Regions from separate parts of the Homo sapiens genome. Here regions 1, 3 and 4 are each linked to region 2. The links are contacts of gene promoters, found by promoter capture Hi-C in blood cells and fetal thymus (Javierre and others, 2016). All regions are on one chromosome and are shown on one strand. Each heading gives the region's core, a stretch centred on a gene start or on the middle of the fragment in contact. The rest is flanking DNA. Distances are from core to core; before and after follow the strand shown.

Evidence for each region. The method cuts DNA at HindIII sites, captures the fragments that hold promoters and counts their contacts. A CHiCAGO score of 5 or more calls a contact.
Region 1: a contact is called between a fragment that was not itself captured here and the fragment with the promoter of ACTN1 in region 2, in 1 of 17 cell types (total B cells). The highest score is 5.6, in total B cells.
Region 3: a contact is called between a fragment that was not itself captured here and the fragment with the promoter of ACTN1 in region 2, in 2 of 17 cell types (total B cells and naive B cells). The highest score is 5.7, in total B cells.
Region 4: a contact is called between a fragment that was not itself captured here and the fragment with the promoter of ACTN1 in region 2, in 2 of 17 cell types (total B cells and naive B cells). The highest score is 8.8, in total B cells.

What each region holds. Positions count from the first base shown.
Region 1 is chr14:67,851,408-67,856,107 of GRCh38, forward strand. All of the region lies in intron 4 of RAD51B (RAD51 paralog B), which reads left to right. Among named protein-coding and RNA genes, the nearest start is that of RAD51B, 34 kb to the left of the region's middle. RefSeq lists an enhancer at 1,768-1,837. The HindIII fragment of the contact is 3,490 bases long and covers 1,629-4,700 here.
Region 2 is chr14:68,976,664-68,981,361 of GRCh38, forward strand. ACTN1 (actinin alpha 1) reads right to left here and starts at 2,639. Exons shown (of 22, transcript NM_001130004.2): 1 at 2,289-2,639. The coding sequence starts at 2,393. It overlaps ACTN1-DT (ACTN1 divergent transcript), which reads left to right and starts at 3,019. Exons shown (of 4, transcript NR_073422.1): 1 at 3,019-3,121; 2 at 3,265-3,524. RefSeq lists enhancers at 1,507-2,506, 2,507-3,505 and a silencer at 2,647-2,696. The HindIII fragment of the contact is 14,649 bases long and covers 1-4,698 here.
Region 3 is chr14:67,878,280-67,882,908 of GRCh38, forward strand. The region is part of intron 5 of RAD51B (RAD51 paralog B); the gene reads left to right. Among named protein-coding and RNA genes, the nearest start is that of RAD51B, 61 kb to the left of the region's middle. The HindIII fragment of the contact is 939 bases long and covers 1,940-2,878 here.
Region 4 is chr14:67,915,785-67,921,034 of GRCh38, forward strand. The region is part of intron 7 of RAD51B (RAD51 paralog B); the gene reads left to right. Among named protein-coding and RNA genes, the nearest start is that of RAD51B, 99 kb to the left of the region's middle. RefSeq lists a silencer at 1-115. The HindIII fragment of the contact is 3,371 bases long and covers 802-4,172 here.

The DNA of each region.
Region 1 (4,700 bases), core at 2,124-4,623, 1.1 Mb before region 2:
TTCGACAGGGCTTTGGGCCATGACTGAAATGCTCATGTAGGGGTCGGCTATGTGCAGTAGAAGCCAGAAGGCAGCAGTCCTGGTTGGGGAGTGGGCAGTGGAGGAAGGGGGTCATGTGGAAAGCATTCTGGCCACCTCTCTGAAGGGTAGCTGCTGGCACTGGAGTTTCTCTCCCCAGCCTGGGGGCAGCAGGGGTGGCCACGGCAGAGGACCTGTTCAGTTGCCTTTGGGAGTGATGGTGATGGGGGGTGTACCTGGGAAGAGGGAATGGGGAGCAGGTTGGGTACTCCTCTCTGCTGATGGAGGTGCTTGAAAGCACCTTTGTTCCCTCCCTAGCCTAGAAGTAGCAAGGATGGGTACTGCAGCAGCTGCAGTGGCAGAGGGCCTGTCAGTTGCCTTTGGAAGCTCCACCCTAGAGAAACAGAGCTGCTACTCACTGAAGTGATTATGTGGGGGTAGGGGTGCCTGTGCTGGCGGCCCAAGTCAGGAGGCCCTGCCCTGTAAGGAGCAGCAGGGGCTGGGCCTCTGAGAGCAAAGAGTCTGGCCACCTTTCCTGAAGGCAGCTGCATCCTGCTGGAGGTCTACTTACTCTCAAGGCAGCTGCATCCTGCTGGAGGTCTACTTACTCTCAGGCTCTTCACTCCCTCCCCAGCCTGAGAGCAGCAGGAGCAAGGACCTGACAGAGGCAGTTGCAGTGGGCCTGTCAGTTACCTCCGGGAGCTCTGACCCAGTGAAATACAGAGCCAGAGCCGTGACCGACTGACCAGAGTGCTCAGTTGGTGGTGGAGTGGGCGTGCTGGGGGCCCAGGCCAGTGGCCTTGCCTGGCAAGGAACAGCAGAGGCAGGGCCTGCAGTCTGACTGCTCCTAAACTCCATGGATATGGCTTCTATCCTAGAGCTACGCGAAAAAACCTGGCCTCCCTTGGTGGGACTATAACAGCTGGCACCAGGGAACTCGGGGATCCAAGGTTGGTGGGGATCCCCGACTCCATGTGGGGTTGAGCTTCCAAGAAGTCTTCCTTACATGGCTTATATGGCTGGGAAGTTGGTCCTGGCTGTTGGCAGTTCTTTGCGATGTGAACCTTTCCATAGGACTGCTTGAGTGTCTTCATGACACAACAGCTGACTTTCTGCAGAGTATGTGATCCAAGAGTACAGGGTAGAAATGACAATTTCTTTTTAAGACAAAGCCTTGGAAGTTACATACCATCATTTCTGCAGTATTCTATTAGTCACAGACAAACCTGATACAATGTGGGAGGAGACTACAGAAAGGCATGGATAACAAAGGTGAGCATCATTGAGTCTTAGAGGCCGCCTACCACTGATATATGCATGTGTGTAAACATATGTACGCATGCATGTGTGTATGTGTATAATTAAAAAAAAAACTTTATGACCATTCTGTTCTCAGAAATGTTGTAGTAGGCAGAATTTCTTAAATGGCCTCTCAAAGATGTTCTGCCCTAATCCCTGGAACCTTTGAATATGATGAGATGTCACTCCCATGATTATTATATGTTATATGGTATAGTTGACTTTAAGATGGGGAGATTATTTGGATCTAATCATATGAGCCCTTAGAAGTAGTGAGCTTTCTCTGGCTGTTAAAAAGGGGAAGGAAGAAAAGCTTAAAACCCAAGAAGGACTCAGGATGCCATTGCTGCCTTGAAGGTGGAGGGGCCATGATTAAAGGAATGTAGGCAGCCTCTAGAAGCAGTGAGTGGCCCTGAGATAAGAGCAAGAAAGGAACCTCAGACCTAGAGCTGCAGAGAAATAGATTTTTGCCAACAGCTTGAATGAACTTGGAAGTTGATTCTTACTCCCAACCTCCAGATAAGAGTCCAGCTCAGCTGAGATCTTGATTTCAACCTTGTAAGACCTTAAGCAGAGAACCTAGCCAACCCTATCTGGACTTCTGACCTGATTGTCTCTGATTTATCCTCTGCTGCTTCTGCTTTAGGAATGAATAGCACTTCTCTACTTCCACTTTTCATCTTGGTGTTGTAACTGAATATATAAGTATACCCAGATTCAGTGACATTCACATAAGTCAAAACTGACTTGCAGTGACATAATAAATGGATGCTGTTCAAGCTGCCAAGTTTGTGGTAATTTGTTATGAAGCAGTAGAGAACTAATAAAATACAGGTGTCAGTGAAGGTGCCTAATTAACTGCATTGCACAGTCTTTGTTTCTGGTTAAAAGGTCAAGCCTAGTGTCCTAGATAGATGTCAGATAGATCTGGTGGGTGGGTGGGGTAAGGCAACTGATTGAATGAACTTAGAGTGGATCTGGAGATTGAGAGAGTAAGAATCAATCTGGAAATATTTTGCTGTCATTTTTATAGTTTCTCTTTCCTGACTTTAACTTAAAAATTTCCTAGGTTATTTATCATCAGTTTTGACTTACGTGAATGTCACTGAATCTGTGTATGCTTACATATTCAGTTACAACACCAACATGAAAAGTGGAAGTAGAGAAGTGCTATTCATTCTTAAAGCAGAAGCAGCAGAGGAGAAATCAGAGACACCAACTCTGCGGACCTGCTGAAGGAAGTGAACTACAGGGCATTGTTCCATTCCCTGAGAACAGCAAACACCTTAAAGTTTGTATTATGTGGAGATCAAATCAGTTCGGTAGCCTTCTCATATGAGATAATATAGATCAGTGTTCCTCATTCATTTTTTCATTATTGTCTCCTAAGAAGCCTTTTTAACAATTTTTTCTTAACCACACCCTCCAATGAAGTTTTTCTACCACACATATACTGTATATCTGTTTTTGTACTGTATAAATATCTGTGCTTTATACATAAAAGAGTAAAATCTTCCCCTTCCTCCAAAACAACTTTTACCCTTGGGGTTAATATTACCCATGCTGAGAATGCATAAGATAGATGCTATTGTGAATAGGTAAAATTAAAGTTATATTTAAAGATACAGGTGAGGTGCAGTGGCTCACGCCTGTAATCCCAGCACTTTGGGAGGCCGAGATGGGCAGATCACTTGAGGCCAGGAGTTTGAGACCAGCCTGCCCAACATGGTAAAACCCCATCTTTACCAAAAATACAAAAATTAGCTGGGTGTGGTGGCATGCGCCTGTTGTGCCAGCTACTTGGGAGGCTGAGGCATGAGAATCATTTGAATCCAGGAGGCAGAAGTTGCAGTGAGCTGAGATTGCACTACTGCACTCCAGCCTGGGCAACAGAGTAAGGCTCCGTCTCAAAAAAAAAAAAAAGTATTCAGAGATATCATCAAAAAAGGTATTTTCAGCTAGGTGTGGTGGCTCATGCCTGTAATCCCAGCACTTTGGGAGGCTGAAGCAGAAGGATCGCTTGAGGCCAGGAGTTTGAGACCAGCCTGAGTAACATAGCAAGACCCTAGCTCTACAAAAAGTAAAAAAAAAAAAAATTAGGTGTGGTGGTGCATGCCTATAGTCCCAGCTACTTAGGAGACTGAGGCAGGAGGATCACTTGAGCCAGGAGTTCAAACCTGCAGTGGGCTATGCTTGTGCCACTGCACTTCAGCCTGGGGTGAGATCCTGTATCTTAAAAAACTATTATTTTCATACTGTAATATAATCTAGAGTACAGGACCAGAGAACTCAGTTCAACACAGAGAGATGTAATATCTGCATAGTTATTATGCCTGGCAAAGTTTTTGTATTTTTAGTAGAGATGGGGTTTCACCATGTTAGCCAGGATGGTCTCGATCTCCTGACCTCATGATCCACCTGCCTTGGCCTCCCAAAGTGCTGGGATTACAGGCATGAACCACCGCGCCTGGCCAGCATCTTAGTTTTTTCTTGGAACAATTACTATTATAGTTCTTTTTTTTTTGAGACAGAGTCTTGCTCTGTTGCACAGGCTGGAGTGCAGTGGTGCGATCTCGGCTCAATGTAAGCTCCGCCTCCCGGGTTCATGCCATTCTCCTGCCTCAGCCTCCCCAGCAGCTGGGATTACAGGTGCCCGCCACCACGCTTGGCTAATTTTTTTTTTTTTGTATTTTTAGTAGAGACGGGGTTTCACTGTGTTAGTAGCCAGGATGGTCTGGATCTCCTGACCTCGTGATTCGCCCACCTTGGCCTCCCAAAGTGCTGGGATTATAGGCTTGAGCCACCGCACCCGGCCTATTATAGTTCTTTTTATAATTGGCAGGATTAGCTGTGGCCTACATGATCACAGGAAATAATAAGGCAGGGGTTGTAAACTCAAATGCCTATAAGCACGAGCCATGTAACAGAAGTACATGAAACAGTTAAGTGTAAGACATAGATATTTATTAGTTGATTTTAGCTGCTGACAACAGCAGCAAACATTTATTTTTTTGCTCATGGGTCTCCATGTCTGCAAAGGTGGATCCTGTCTTCTTCAGGCTGCAGTGAGGTTCAGATGTGCCCCACAAGTTGTAACAGCAGCAGGAAAACCAGAGAGAGATTTCAAATGGATGTTCCTTGAGTACAGTCTGCTGACATTCATTTATCCTGCCCTATGTTTTGAAAGGCAGATAACTAGGCCTCTGTTCTAATACAGACATTTAGCATATGCGGTTGATTGGACCATTGTTCCCAATTCTTCACTTACTCTCTAATTTAGAAATAAACATTCTGCTCTGTAATGGTTTACTAGAGTCTTTTATGTGGCACATGTTCAATAACTGCTGTTAAATGAATGATTATATCCCTTAATACTGTTTGAT
Region 2 (4,698 bases), core at 1,389-3,888:
CTCCCTTGCCAAGGAGGGACAAGTGAGGGGAAGCTGCCAGTCCCAAACATGGCTGCATCCCAGCCCCACCAAACACAGTCTGGACTTGGAGCTGGTTACTTCCCCTCTCTGGCCCTGGTTTCCTAGTCCTTGTTCGTGCCTGGCACATATCAGCAAATGCCAGTTCTTGGCACTGTTGAGTTTGCCTCCAGGATAACCCAGTTTCCCAGACCACCTCTTCCTACCTGGCTGCCCAAAGGCCTGGGGCACACCCACTGCCACCCAGGTCAGAGCCCTGGGAATCTATATTCTTCTCCCCACTGCGTTTAATATATTCATTCATTCAGAAATATTAAATACGATGTTCAGGCCGGTGCTCAGTGTCTGTCCCCTAGGAACTTGGTCTCACAGTCCTTTCAGGGGCCTAGTTCCTAGGCAGCTCTGTTACTCCTGCCCCTCCCAGGCACAAAGCAGGTGCTCCCTAAGCAGGGATTTCTCCTTCGATTCTAACCCCCAGGGAAGACCCCAATCCACCACCCTAATCTCACTTCTAATTTAAAATCCATTCTCAAGAAGGCTTCACCCTGAAATTATTAAAGAGCCTTCTGCCTGGTGCCCCATAGGGATCTCCAAATTACTCACTCACTTTTCAGTTCCACCCACAGCACCCATGGTCCCAGGAAATAAGCCAAGTGAGTGGGGGACTGTCTGCAGCCCCCAGTCTTCAGCTCTTACTAGGAAGATGACAGGAAGAGGGGGAGTTTAAGCAACTGGCACATTACAAAGAAGTCAGTTCGAAGTCAGGGGACCTTCCCATGTCCGATGTAGATGACCGATGTCGCTGTATAGGGCCCAGCCCTGCATAGGCCTTGGGCACCGCGGCCCAGGTCATCCTGCTTTGAGGAAGCCCATTGTGTGTGTTTTAGATTACCTCTGCCTGTCTGATGAAGTGAGTAAAAGGGCTCCGTTTCAGGGCCTAGGATTCCTGAGTGAGCTAATACAGGATGCCTTTGGCTGAAAAAAAAAACTTCAGTCGGCTCTATAAACTACCCCCCTTTTAAGTTTAAAAAAGGGAATGAATGTTACCATTTTTGGACATGAGCGTTCTCCCTCAAGCCCAGCCCTAACCGCACTATCCAAAGGGACGCGCCATCCTGTCCCCCCCCCACCCAAAACCCCATTCCCAGATCAGCCTGGGGGTGGGGAGGGTATGAAACGGGGAGGGACCGGATGGAAGTGGGCAGCCGGGAGGAGGGGGAGGGAAAGGGGTATTCAGGGTACGTGGCCGCCTGGGGGCACAGGCTCACCGCGCAGGCAGGAAGCAGCGGTAGGGTTGAGGCGCCCTCCCCCCACCACCACGAGTGGTTTCTGACCTCTTCCTGCCACTGGCCACTGTGCCCGGGTCCCATCGCCAGCTCCGAGCCCAGCTCCCGTGGCGGGGCGCGCACCCGGCACACCGCGCCTGCCTGGGATGCAGCTCCGTGGCTAAGTAGGGATCCCCAGTGACTGGCCCCAAATATCCCCTAAGACTGACCCTCGTTCTGCAGCCCCTCAACTCGAACCGAGCTGCCCACCTTTCCCGGGGGTCGGAGGGGCAGGACGTAGCGCAAGCCCATGTCGGGGTTACAGCTTCCAACCCACTGAGTTAAGCAATAAAACGGTCTGCTGTCCTGACCCCGCCCCCACAGGGCCCGCGGGGGAGCCCGCGTACGCCCCCCAGTTTTCTCGTCCCCAGCCGCACTCCAGCTGGTCCTTCTCCAGGCAGATCCGGAGGCGGCCGCCGATCTCTCCGGCGCTCTCCCCTCCGCCTAAGGGGCAGCAGGGTCCCGGGAGGCCCGCCGCTCAGGTTGAACCCAGGGCGGCCCAGGAAGCGGCGCTGCCACCGCACGCCATATGGAGAGGTGGCCAGGGGCGGAAGAAAAGGGAAAATCGATCCGGAGCAAGCAGCCCCGAGCCGGGGTCTCAGCCCCAGCCTGAAGACCACCGCCCCCGAGCACAGCCCACGCGGGGATGGTTGCAACAGCCGCAGGGTGGCCTGGACCACGGACCCCCAAGGAGACCTGCCCGCCAGCGGCGCCACCTCCCCGCGCTCCGGCCCGGCGTTCCCGGGCTCCGGGGCAGGGGCGCTCCCGCTTCCGCCAGGCGCCTGTAACCCAACACCCCACCTCGCAACGGCCGCACCGCCCCCGCCCCCTCCCGTGCGCGCCCGGAACCGGTTCAGAGCCCGGAGCCGAGAGCCCGGCAGGCAGAGCGGGTCGGGGCTGGGGGCTGGGGGCTGGGGGCTGCAGCGGGCGGGGGCGGCTGCTAACCTTTCTCTGCTGCTTCTCCCAGGCCGGGTCCAGGAGCAGGTCCCGGTCCCAGTCCTCTTCTGGCTGCATGTAATCGTTGGTTTGCTGAGAATCATAATGGTCCATGATGGTGCGCGCGTGCTAGGGTCTGGATTTCTTCCTCCACCTTCTCTCTGAGCAACGGCTGCTGCCCTGGCGTGGGGAGGGAGTAGGGCTGGGCTGGGCTGGGCTGGCGGGGCCGGGCTCGCTCCCCTGCGCCCGGTTCCGCCGCGGCGCTGCTGGCGAAGGCTGCTACTGGCGGCGACAGCGGCGGCTGGGCTCGCGGACTGCCTGCCTCTGGGCGGGCGCTTGGACCTAATCTCCACGCACACTGAACTAGGCGGACACACTAGCGCTGCGGGAGCCGAGGCGGGCGGGGGCGGGGGGAAGGGGCAGAGCCCTCCCGAGGCTCTCCATTGGCCAGGCCGAGTTGCCCAAACTTCCCCCCATCGCCTCTCATTGGGAATTCCTGGCATCCGTCAGCCGGGCTGCGGCGCATATAGGTGGACTGGGCGGCCCCCTCCCGGCGCGCACACCCCCGCCCACTCCCGCGGTGCCCGTTCCCCCGCGGCTCATGTGACGCCAGCTTAAGCTGAACGGGACCGAAGCCGGGAGACGCCTCCCCGAGCTCGGGGACTGAGTGGCAGCGCGCTTGGGAACCCCAGGAGCCGCCGGGATTGGACCCGTTCCCCGCCACCGTTATTGCGCTCCCACGCGCGCTCCAAACCCCGGGGTGGGAGGGGGCTGGAGAAAGGACGCGAGGAAACCCGAAGAACATTCATTTTCTCTTTCCCAGGGAACCTGGGTCTGGGCAGGTCGGCACCCTAGGAAAGGGGGCGGAGTGGGGCAATGGAAAGGAATTTCTTGGGAATTTCACGACTCCACCGCCGCCCCCCCCGGCCCCGCCCCACCCCACCCCACCCTACAAGGCGCGACCCGGCTGATCCCTGCCCTGCAGGAACCCGGTTTCTCGCCAGCGAACTGCTCTCAGAGGCTACCGAGCGTTCCCGCCTCGCCGCAGGAACTCTTCTAGCTCGCCCTCGGGCTCTGGGGACCGCTCCACAGCGGGGCCTCCCGGAATTCCCTGCCGGTCTCCGCGGGCACACTTGGCTGGCTGCTGCGACCAAAACTACCTTCGCGTGGCAGGGTCCTCCCTCCTCCTCACAGACACCCCGACATCACCCTCAAAACTGGAAGGGACAACCCCGAGTGATCTAGGTAAATCTACTCCGTACCCCCCTCCCACATACACACGCCTGACAGATGGGGAAACTGAGGCTCAAAGAGCCGAGCGCGGAAAGAGCTTCTGGACTTCACAGGCCAATCCGGTAACCTTATGCCTGACAAACAAAACCTTATTGTCATTGGAGGAGGATGGAGGGCGGGAGTGACTAAATAGCTCTAACTTCTGCTTGCCACCTGCCAGGACTCCTTTCCCTGGGCTTAGTAAGAGGAGAGTCTAAACGCGCTAATGCCCGGGAAGGAGCAGGCCTCGCGTTCTGGCAGGCTCCTCTATGGGATCCCGGTTCCGAAGAACAGTAGCAAATAAACCTCTCCTAGGTTATGCACTGTCTTGTGAACAACAGATGTGCCAGTCTTCCACCCCAGCACCCAGCACATAGTAGAGCTTAATTTATGGATTTGAGGCTGGCCACGGTGGCGGTGGCTCACACCTGTAATCCCAGCACTTTGAGAGGCTGAGGCGGGCAGATCGCTTGAGCCCAGGAGTTGGAGACCAGCCTGGCCAACGTGGCAAAACCCCGTCCTTACTAAAAATACAAAAATCAGCCGGGCATGGTGGTACACGCCTGTAGTCCCAGCTACTTGGGAAGCTGAGGCGGGAGACTCCCTTGAGCCTGGGAGGTCGAGGTTGCAGTGAGGTGCATTTTCACCATTGCACTCCGGCCTGGGTGACAAAACAAGACTGTCTCAAAATATATACATACATATATGCATTTGGCCCTTTATATCCACAGGCTTCAGAACCCGCAGATACCCAGGCTGACTGTGAGGGACTTGAGCATCCTCAGATTTTGGTATCCATGGGGATGCTGAAACCAATACCCTGCCAATACTAAGGGAGGACTGTATTTGTAGGATGAATGGCTGCATCAACTGCAAAAATTTAAATTTAAATTTAAATTTAAAATGCAAATATGTCAATTCAGAAGTGAGTGAAGGAGTTAGAAGAAGAAGTTCACTGACAGGAAGGGCCCTGAATTATGGGCTGGATTTTGTCCTCTACCTTCTCTCCAGGCGATGGTGGATACCTGAAAGCCACCCATGGAAAAGGTGAAGAAAGTGCCCCCTGGTTCTCAGAAGAGCCACTGCTGCTGTTGTGAGCAGATATCGGATGGTGTCTCTGGCTGCATCATTCGTCAACCACACATAT
Region 3 (4,629 bases), core at 1,159-3,658, 1.1 Mb before region 2:
AGCTCATTGTTTTAACTATTGTGAACCAACATCTTTTCATATATTCATTGTCCATTTATATTTCTTTGGCAAATTACCTAGAAATACACTTTGTCCATTTTTTCTTATTGATATATATAAATACTTTGTGTATTATGGATATTTATGTTTATATGATTTTTTTCCTGGGCTATAATTCTATAATTTATCTTTCAACTTTGGTTATGCTATCTTTTGTTATCTATGATTTCTTTGGTGGTTGATCTTTCAGATTTTGCTTTATGGCTGTAGTTTTTAAAGTTTTAATTTTCAGGGCCCTTAAACTCTAGGTGGATTATATCAATTGATATTTATCATATTAGGAATTTAAACTGGAAAATTTAAAGAATATTTAACTATTATCTATTATGCAGTAAGTCCATTACATGGTATGTGTTTTTTTGTGTGTTTGTTTTTGTTTTTGAGATGGAGTCTCACTGTCGCCGGGCTTGAGTGCAGTGGTGTGATCTTGGTTCACTATAACCTCCACTTCCTGGGTTCAAGCGATTCTCCTTACTCAGCCTCCCGAATAGTTGCAATTACAGGTGCCCACCAGTGCGCCTGCCACCATGCCTGGCTAATTTTTGAATTTTTAAATTAAAGACGGGGTTTCGCCATGTTGGCCAGGCTGGTCTCGAACTCCTGACCTCAAGTGATCTGTTCATCTCAGCCTCCCAAAGTCCTGGGATTACAGGCGTGAGCCACTGTGCCTGGCCATTACATGTTAGCATATTGTACCAAACAGGGCTCCATTAGGAAAATAGAACCAGTAGAACATATATTAAGAGAGTTATTGCAAAGAATTGGCATATGCAGATGTGGAGTTGTCTGAAATCCATAGGGCAGGCTGTTGGAAAGGGCAGGCTAGAACTCTCAGGCAAGGGCCTAAGCTGTAGTCCATAGGTGGAATTTCATCTTTTTAAAGGAAGTCTCAGCTCTGCTGTTAAGGCTTTTCAAGTGATTGAATTAGCCCACCCAGATTATGTAGGATAATCTCTAGTACTTAAAGTCATCTGTTTATGGACATTAATGACATCTACAAAATCCTTTCATAACAATGCATAGATTAGTGTTTGATTGAATAACAGGAGACTGTGGACTAGCCAAGTTGACACAAAACTGACTGTCATATATTTTTTGTTTGTTTTTTGTTTTTTTTTTAAGAGACAGGGCCTCGCTCTGTCACCCAGGCTGGAGTGCAGTGACATGATCATAGTTCACTGTAACCTCCAGCTCCCGGACTTAAGAGAGCCTCCTGCCTCAGCCTCCTGAGTAGCTGGGACTACAGATGTGAGCCACTGCACCTGGACTTTACATGTATTTTTTATGGAAAATAAATACATTTTTGACTAAAAAAAGTGAAAAAAGAGTGGCGTTGTTTTATGTTTTTGCAAATCTCTTTAGTGTCTGACTTAATAGAAGACAGCCTGATTCTAATATCTGCTTCTGCATTCAGTCTGTTGCACTCTGTTGTTTTGGTTGAGATATGAAGATCTGGCCTTATACTGGTTATAGTTGGAAAGGGAGGAATATTTTAATAGTCTCTTCAGATAATTAAAGATATGCTTCTTTGATACTACACCAGGAATTGAGTAATAGTTGCTTAGAGGTTAGTTGTGATATAGAATCTGAAACCATATTATTGCATTTTTTCTACAGTTACATTAAAATCTATTCATCTGTCTTAGGCTCTTAATGGATATTTACCTATGCATGATTTTGTAATATTATGCATTTATCACTCAGAAAATATTGGTTCACTGTCTTATGGAGTTCTAAATGTTGACACATTTTATTACTCAATATAAAAAAATTTCATTAGTATCTCCACTGATCTGAACAAAAAGTATTTAAGTATTGGGATGCAGTCAAACTCATGGTAGCAGATGTAAGTTTTTTAGGAATCTGATTTTTCATTAAAAGCTTGAATTTTATCATTGGCAATAAATATTGCCACTTGTTTTTCTTGAAGTGTCGGGCTTACTTTGCTCATTTTGAGAAAACGTCTACCAAATACTTAAGTCAGAAAAACCATAACTTATCTATCAATCATTCTTTCAAGTAAAAATGGTCTCCCATGGAAAAAGTGACTTCTTAGTCTGAGAACCCAATTGTACAGATGTTTTTCCTTGAGACAATGGTTGTACTTCAGAATGTAGTAGAAGTGCTTCTATTTTGTCAAACAGAATATTAAAAATATGTCTGTGTTCTAATAAAACTCTATTGACAAAAACAGGCAATGGGCCATAGTGCACAGTTTGACAACCCCTGCTTTATTTAACTCCTTGAGCAAATGTAGAAGATTAATAATAGCCGTTTTGAGGTTTTTATCCATGAATGCCATCATATATATAATTTTTTAAATCTGTTTTTATTGACTGATTTTTCTCCTGGTAATGGATCTTTTCCTCTTCCTTTACTTGTCTGGTAATTTTTCAATTCGATGTTAAACATTGTAAATTTTACGTTGTTGGTGGGTGCTGGATTTTAACATATGTTTTTCAAGAGTGTTAGGTTTTGTTTTAAGGTACATTTTAGTATTAGTTTGATCCTTTTGCAGGTTGCTTTTCTATGTTGTTATGGAAAAATCCCAGGTACAGTCATGCTTCGCTTAACAATTGGGATATGTTCTGAGAAATGCATTGTTAGGCAATTTCATTGTTGTATGAACACCCTACAGTGTACTTACATGCACCTAGATGGTATAGCCTACTGCGCACCTAGACTATATGGTATAGCCTATTGCTTCTAGGCTATGAACCTGTACAGCATGTTACTGTATTGAATAGGCAATTACAACACAATGGTAAGTATTTGTGTATCTAAACAAAGGAAAGGTATTGTAAAAATATACTATATAAGCTTATGGGACCACTGTTGTATAAGTGATGCATCATTGACTGAAATGTCGTTATGCAGCACATGACTGTGGTTTTTTATTCTGAAACTTATTTAGCTTCACTACTAAGGTAAAATCCTTCTGAAAATTCTGCCCAATGCCCAGTGTATAATAAGGTCTCTTTATTCTTCACCTTGTGTAAACCCGAACTGTTCTCACCCTGTGTGGGCACTAGGAAGTGTTCAGTCTGATACTTTCTGGTGGTTCTTTCCTCAACCTCAAGTAGTTTCCCTTCACACATGTGCAGATTAGTTCTCAAGTGGCCCTCTCTGCAGATCTTTGCAGTGCTCACTCTGCACACCTGCTTCCTCTCTGGTACTCTGCCCCATAAGTTCTAGCCACCTTAGCTTTCCCAAACTCCGATCCCCATCTCCTCAACTCAGGTTGTCTACCAGGCTCTGTTTACTTTCCCTTTCTTGTGTTGCAGCCTGGAAACTGCCTCTGGAGCAAACTGAGGTGATTGTAAGCTCATTGTGTTTGTTTCCTTTCTCTCAAGGATTACAGTCTCAAGCTTTCTATTGTTCAGTACCTGAAAACTCTTATTTCATGTATTCTGTCTGATTTTCTACTTATTATTTTAGTGCAATTCATGTACCAGTTAATCCTTTGTGGGCTAAAGTGGAAATCCCTTCTTTCATTCTCTCTTGAGTTCACTCTATCCAGGCTTAAGTTTCCAGCTCTATAATGCAACTGATTTAAAAAATTTTATCCAACCCAATAGCAGCATTCGAAAGAGTTGATCACTCACTTTTTCTTGAAAAGCTCTCTTCCCTTGACTTTTTATTTTTTTAGACAGGTTCTCACCTAACTCTGTCACCCAGGCTGGAGTACAGTGGTGCTATCATGGTTCACTGCAGCTTTGACCCCTCAGACTCAAGCAATCCTCTCACCTCAGCCTCTCGAGTAGCTGGGACCACAGGCATATGCCACCATGCCCAGCTAATTTTTTAATTTTTAGTACAGATAAGGTTTTGGTATGTTGCCCTGGTTGGTCTTAAACTTCTGGGCTCAAGAGATCCTCCTGCCTTGGCCTCCTAAAGTGTTGGGATTATAGGCATGAGCCACCATGCCCAGCCCACTTGGCTTCTTGGAACTATTCTCTCTTCTTTTACACCTACCTTCTTGGTCACCTCCTCCTCTCAGTCCCTTTTGCTGGATCCTCCTCATCATTTTAACTTCTAGGCTTTGGGGAATCCCAGAACTCAGTCCTAGGACCTTTTCTCTTCTATATCTGTACTCAATCCCTAATATCATCTGGTCTTATGATCTTTAAAATCTTTTATAGGCTGTAACTCCTATTGATATCTGAATTCTGAGCTTTCCCATGAACTTCAGATTCATATTCATTTGCGTAATGACATGGAACTTGGATAGGTTTACATACATGGATTTCCTGATATGTCCAAAACTGCATTTTTGTTTCCCCCATGAAGGAAATAAAACATGCAAATAACACCAATAACCAAAACCTTTATGTGAATCTTGTCTTTTCTGCTTCAATAAAGTTGTGATTCCATTCTTCTAGACACTCACCCAATTAGTCAAGAAATTCTTTCTTTTTTTTTTTGAGACGGAGCCTCACTCTGTTGCCTAGGCTGAGTGCAGTGGCGTGATCTTGGCTCACTGCAACCTCCATCTCCCAGATTCAAGCGATTCTCTTGCTTCAGCCTCCCGAGTAGCTGGGATTACAGGCGCCCGTCACCACACCTGGC
Region 4 (5,250 bases), core at 1,237-3,736, 1.1 Mb before region 2:
CCTTACTTTCTAAGCCTGCCATTACAAAAAGAAAATAATATTTCCTATTAGAGCCTGAAGCTTTTTTCCTCCCTAGCTCTTATTTAGGGAGAATATATAATTTAAGTGTTTGAATAGGAATAGAGGAAGTAGCCAAACACTTTTCAATAGTCCAGCTAAAATACACAATAGCACATGTTTAAAGTACATCTTTGGAAGAAAGATTTGAAGATCCTTGATAAGATAATATATCATGTACCACAAAGGCATGCCCTGCTAAGTAAAAGTGGGAAGAAGCAGTACATATTCTATTAGGGGGTCAGAAATCTTTAAATAGAAGTTTCTCTGGCAATCTGGTTCCCAGATAGATAGTTGAAGGCTCAAAGAAATTTCCAAGCTTGCTAGAAATTTCCATCTGCTGGCTTTTGTGTTGAGTTAAATGCCATCATATTTTATTGCCTCATACATTTGCATTAACACTTTCCCTTTAAATTTACTTAAAGTATTTTTTGTTTTGTTTCATTTTTGTTTTTTTTTGAGACTGGTCTCACTTTGTCGCTCAGGTTGGAGTGTAGTGGAGCTCACAGTTTACTTCAGCCTTCTGAGTACCTGGGACTACAGGTGCATGCCACCACACCTGGCTAATTTTTGTATTTTTTGTAGAGACGGGGTTTCGCCATGTTGCCCAGGCTGGTCTCGAACTCCTGGCCTCAAGTGATCCTCCTTGCCTTGGCCTTCCAAAGTGCTGGGATTGCAGACGTGAGCCACAGTGCCTGACAGTAATATTTTTTTTTTTATTAGAAACATAAGAACCCACCTCAAAGCTTGGGCTTGGAAGTCTATGGAGGCTTTATTTATTTTAGCCACAGACATGGATAAGAGGCAATCTAAGTTAAATATGTGCACTTTGGTACCAGGCCAACCTGAGTTCTAACCAAATTTTTCATGTTTTAGATGTGAGACAAGTTAATCTTCTAGGCCTTACTTCCTTCATGTATAAAGTAGTTATTATTACTTAATTCAACAAATATTATTAGTCACTCTTCTATGTGTTGGGGTATTCCAGTGAATAAAATAATGACAGTCTTTCCCTTAGTGCAGTTTCCATTCTAATGGTAGAGGACGGAGGATGGGGGAGGCAATAAAAAGGAATTGTATGTTAAAAATAATAATTGCTGTAAGCAGAGAGGAAGTAGAGCAGGGTAAGGGAGATACTGAATACAGAAGAAAGGAGGTGCAGAATTAGGGTAGTAAGGGTTGGCATCGTTGAGCCAGTGACATCTGAGCAAAGACTTGAATGCAGTTTTAAAAGGCTTGCTCTGGTATTGCTGAGTTGAGAATAGATTGCAGGGCATTAAGAATAAAATAAAGGAGAATCATTAGGAGCTTTTCCTAGTAACCTAGGCAACAGATTTTCTTAGGCTGTTCTTGCGTTGCTATAAAGGAATACGTGAGACTGGGTAATTTATAAAGAAAAGAGGTTTCATTGGCTCATGATTCTGTAGGCTGTACAGGAAGCATGGCACCAGCATCTGCTCAACTTCCGCGGAGGCCTCAGGGGAGCTTTTACTTATGGTGGATGGCGAAGTGGGAGCAGGCCCATCACATGACAAAAGCAAGAGCAAGAGAGAGAGTAGAGGGTGAGGTGCCCAACACTTTTAAACCACCAGATCTCTTGAGAACTCACTAGCGTGAAGACAGCAGCGAGCCATGAGGGATCTGCCCCTGTGACCCAAGCACCTTCCATTAGGCCCCATTTCCCATGTTGGGGATTAACATTCAACATGAGATTTGGGTGGGAGAATATTCAAACCATATCACAGATGATGATAACTTAACGAGTATTATCAGTGAAGATGCTGAGGAATCATTGAATTTTGTATATATTTTTGAGATTGAGACAACAGGATTTCCTGACGATTTGAGTATGTTATATGAAACAAAAAGGAGTCTATGTTTTTGGCTCAGGAACTGAATGGATGGAGCTGTTATCAACTGATAAGAGGAACACTGTGGACAGAGCAGATTTGAGGGGGAAGATCAGGAGTTCAGTACTATATATATATATATTGAGTTTGAGATGTCTGTTTGGCATTCTTGCAGAGATAATGACATCTACCAATGGGTTGGTTGTGATGATTAAATATGGTGAATGTAAATTACTGAGCACAGAATCTGACCATTATCTCTGTGAGATCAGAGAATAAATTGCTACATGAAACAAGAATAAGAGATTGCAAAAGGGAGATACTTAGGGAAAAAGAGCTCACAGAATGTGATAGAAAAAAATTTTTAAATGATGGATGGGAGGATAAGATTGAAGAAATCTCCCAGAATATAAAAGCCAAAGAGATGTAAGAATATTACAGAAATATTAAAAATAATGGAGAATCTACTCAGGAGGCCCATCTCCTTTCTAAAAAGATTTTCAGAGAGAGAGAGAGATCAAAGAAAAGGGAAGGGAAATAATTTTATTTATTTATTTTTTTGAGATGGAGTCTCACTCTGTTGCCCAGGCCAGAGTGCAGTGGCATGATCCTGGCTCACTGCAACCTCCACCTCCAGGGTTCAAGCAATTCTTCTGCCTCAGCCTCCCGAGTAGCTGGGATTGTGGGCATGCACCATCACACCCGGCTAATTTTTGTATTTTTAGTAGAGACAGGGTTTCACCATGTTGGCCAGGCTAGTCTCAAACTCCTGACCTCAGTTGATTCATCTGCCTCGGCCTCCCAAAATGCTGGGATTACAGGCATGAGCCACTGTGCTCAGCTAAGGGAAATAATTATCAGTGAAACAATGCAAGAAAAATTTCCAGAACTGAAGGACATCTGTTTCTAAATTGAAAGTGCTCAGCACCATTAATGAGGGGGAAAAAGACATATTACCAGGACATTTCAGAGTGCCAGAGAGTAAAAACAAGTCACAAGGAAAGGAATAGGGATTAGTGGAGTGTCAGACTTAACTCAAAACTAACACTGGAAGCTAGTAGACAAGGAAGCAATACCTTCAAAGTGCTGAGGGAAAATTATGACAAACATAGATTTCTAATTCCAACCAAATAGTCAATCAATTATGAGGATAGCCTAAAGATATTTTTTTAGCATGCAAAGTGCCAAAAAATTTATCTCCTACACATCTCCCCACAGGAAGCTATTGAAGTATGTGAAAGAAGGCATGAAATCTAGGAAAATGGGGAATGTAACACTGGAGAGAGAGAGGAAGTTTGCAAGATGATGGTGAACAAAAGTCCAGGATGACAGCTGAGTAGCAAGCCTAGAGATGACTAGTACAGATTGGAGCAGGAAGGTGGAAACTCCAGGGAAGATGTCTGTACAAACCAAATTAAACTGATGCATGTGATTATTCTGAAAGAGTTTCATAGTTTGTTCAGACATTAGGGAATAAACTGTCCCTAACTTAAGGGAGCTTACACTGTAATAAGGGGTACATGCAAGTAGGCAGGCAATTATAGTATTCTGTGAAGGTTCGTAAAGTTTAGTACTGTAGGAAACCAGAATATGCCTCCCCAAAATGTGAAGGATTCTCGAGCTGAAGACAGTTAAGATGCAGTAGAGCTCTCTGCCTAAAAGCAGGACACAGATTTACAGAGAAAAATGTCTTGCTGTCCTCCCTCCTCCCTTTCTCCCCTAAAGACAGGATGTAAATTCTTTACTGGAAAAAAACCCTTTATCATCTCAGAGACGGCGCCAGAGGAATCTGCAAGCTGACTTTACTCCATTAGTGCCTTCCATATATTTACCTTTCCACGGTTTCCCACCTCTGGAAGTCTGGGACTGCTTTCCTTTGCCTTGTCACTTCTCTAAAATTTATTGTTCTTTGTTGGATATACTATATAAACCAGACTCATGAACCACTGCCTTGAGTTACTTTTCACTGAGGGCTTTTCCTGTGTGATATGCACCGTACACGTTAATAAACCTATCTGTTTTTCTCTTGTTAATCTGCCTTCTGTTATAGAAGTCTGTGCTAACTACATACTTAAGAAGGTTGAGGAAAAAATACTTTTTCTCCCCTTCAGTTCTCTGCTGCTAGATCACCCATAGTTGGAATGGAGGCTCAGAAACCTAGTATTTAGCTCCTTTGAGCATCTGTAATTGAACTGGCAAAGCAAGAGCTTGGGGCTGACTGTTGGATTAGCTGAAGAATAGTTTCCGTCATATTCTAGAAAAGAAAGCTTTTTTTTTCTTTTTCTTTTTCTCCAGGGAATGAGTGGGGTTATCCATTTATTGTAGTTTAAAGGATTTAAAATCCATCTATATATTGATAAGCATTCATCAGTTTTTATTTTAGTATGTATGGTGCTATCATGTTTATAAGAATATTTTGTTTTTAAAATGACTAGAGCGGTACAAAGGAAAAAACTTTAGTTGTTAATTTTAGATGAAAAGCAACTGAATTTCTTAGGTAATAATTATTTTACCCTCCCAAGATACGTTTTCTGTACTCCATTGACTTATGCCAATAAAGTAATGTTCTTCCAATTTAATAATGGATTTTTTTTCTTGTTGAATTTTTTTCAACTCTAACGTTATTTTGTTGTTGGAGATTGATTAAAAAATACAAATTTTACTGTTTAAAGAATGTTGCCTAATTAGTTATAAATCTATTTCATCTTTGCATTTTTTTCTTTTATATACTCATATAAAATGTAGCAGTTTGTATCACATCAGTATTTCTCTTATATAAATATGGTTTATGGTTATGTCTAATCTCATTTCTCATTTGGCCAGTTAATATATGCACAGATAAATGGCCCATAAAGAAAAACTTCAAGAGGAGAAAAAGGTAATCTAAATGCATATTATTATTTTAAAGTTCTAATACTGTGTACAATTTTATGAAGTTAAGTTTCTGTAATATGTGGTCACCCAGGGGTCTGAGAACATTAGTTAATCCAGTCAACAAACATTGATGGCATATGTGCTGTATGACAGGCTCTGTGCTTGGTCTTAGGAATACAGGACAAGTTAGGGCATCATTCCCACCCTCCGATAATGCTTAGTCCCCAGGAAAAAAAAATTGACATATAAACAAGTAGAGGTGGTAAAACAGAAGATTAAAGGTCCTATAGATGATATTTACCAATGAATAAAGAGAGAAGGCTATCTTAAGAAAAATATGTAGTAAGAAGAAAGAAATGGAGATAGAGAACATTTGAGGAAATGGCAGACATTTATTTGTATTTGGTTGTAGCATAGAGTAATGGGGAAGACCGGGGAAACATTGAGAACCATCTCATAGAGCAGGCAT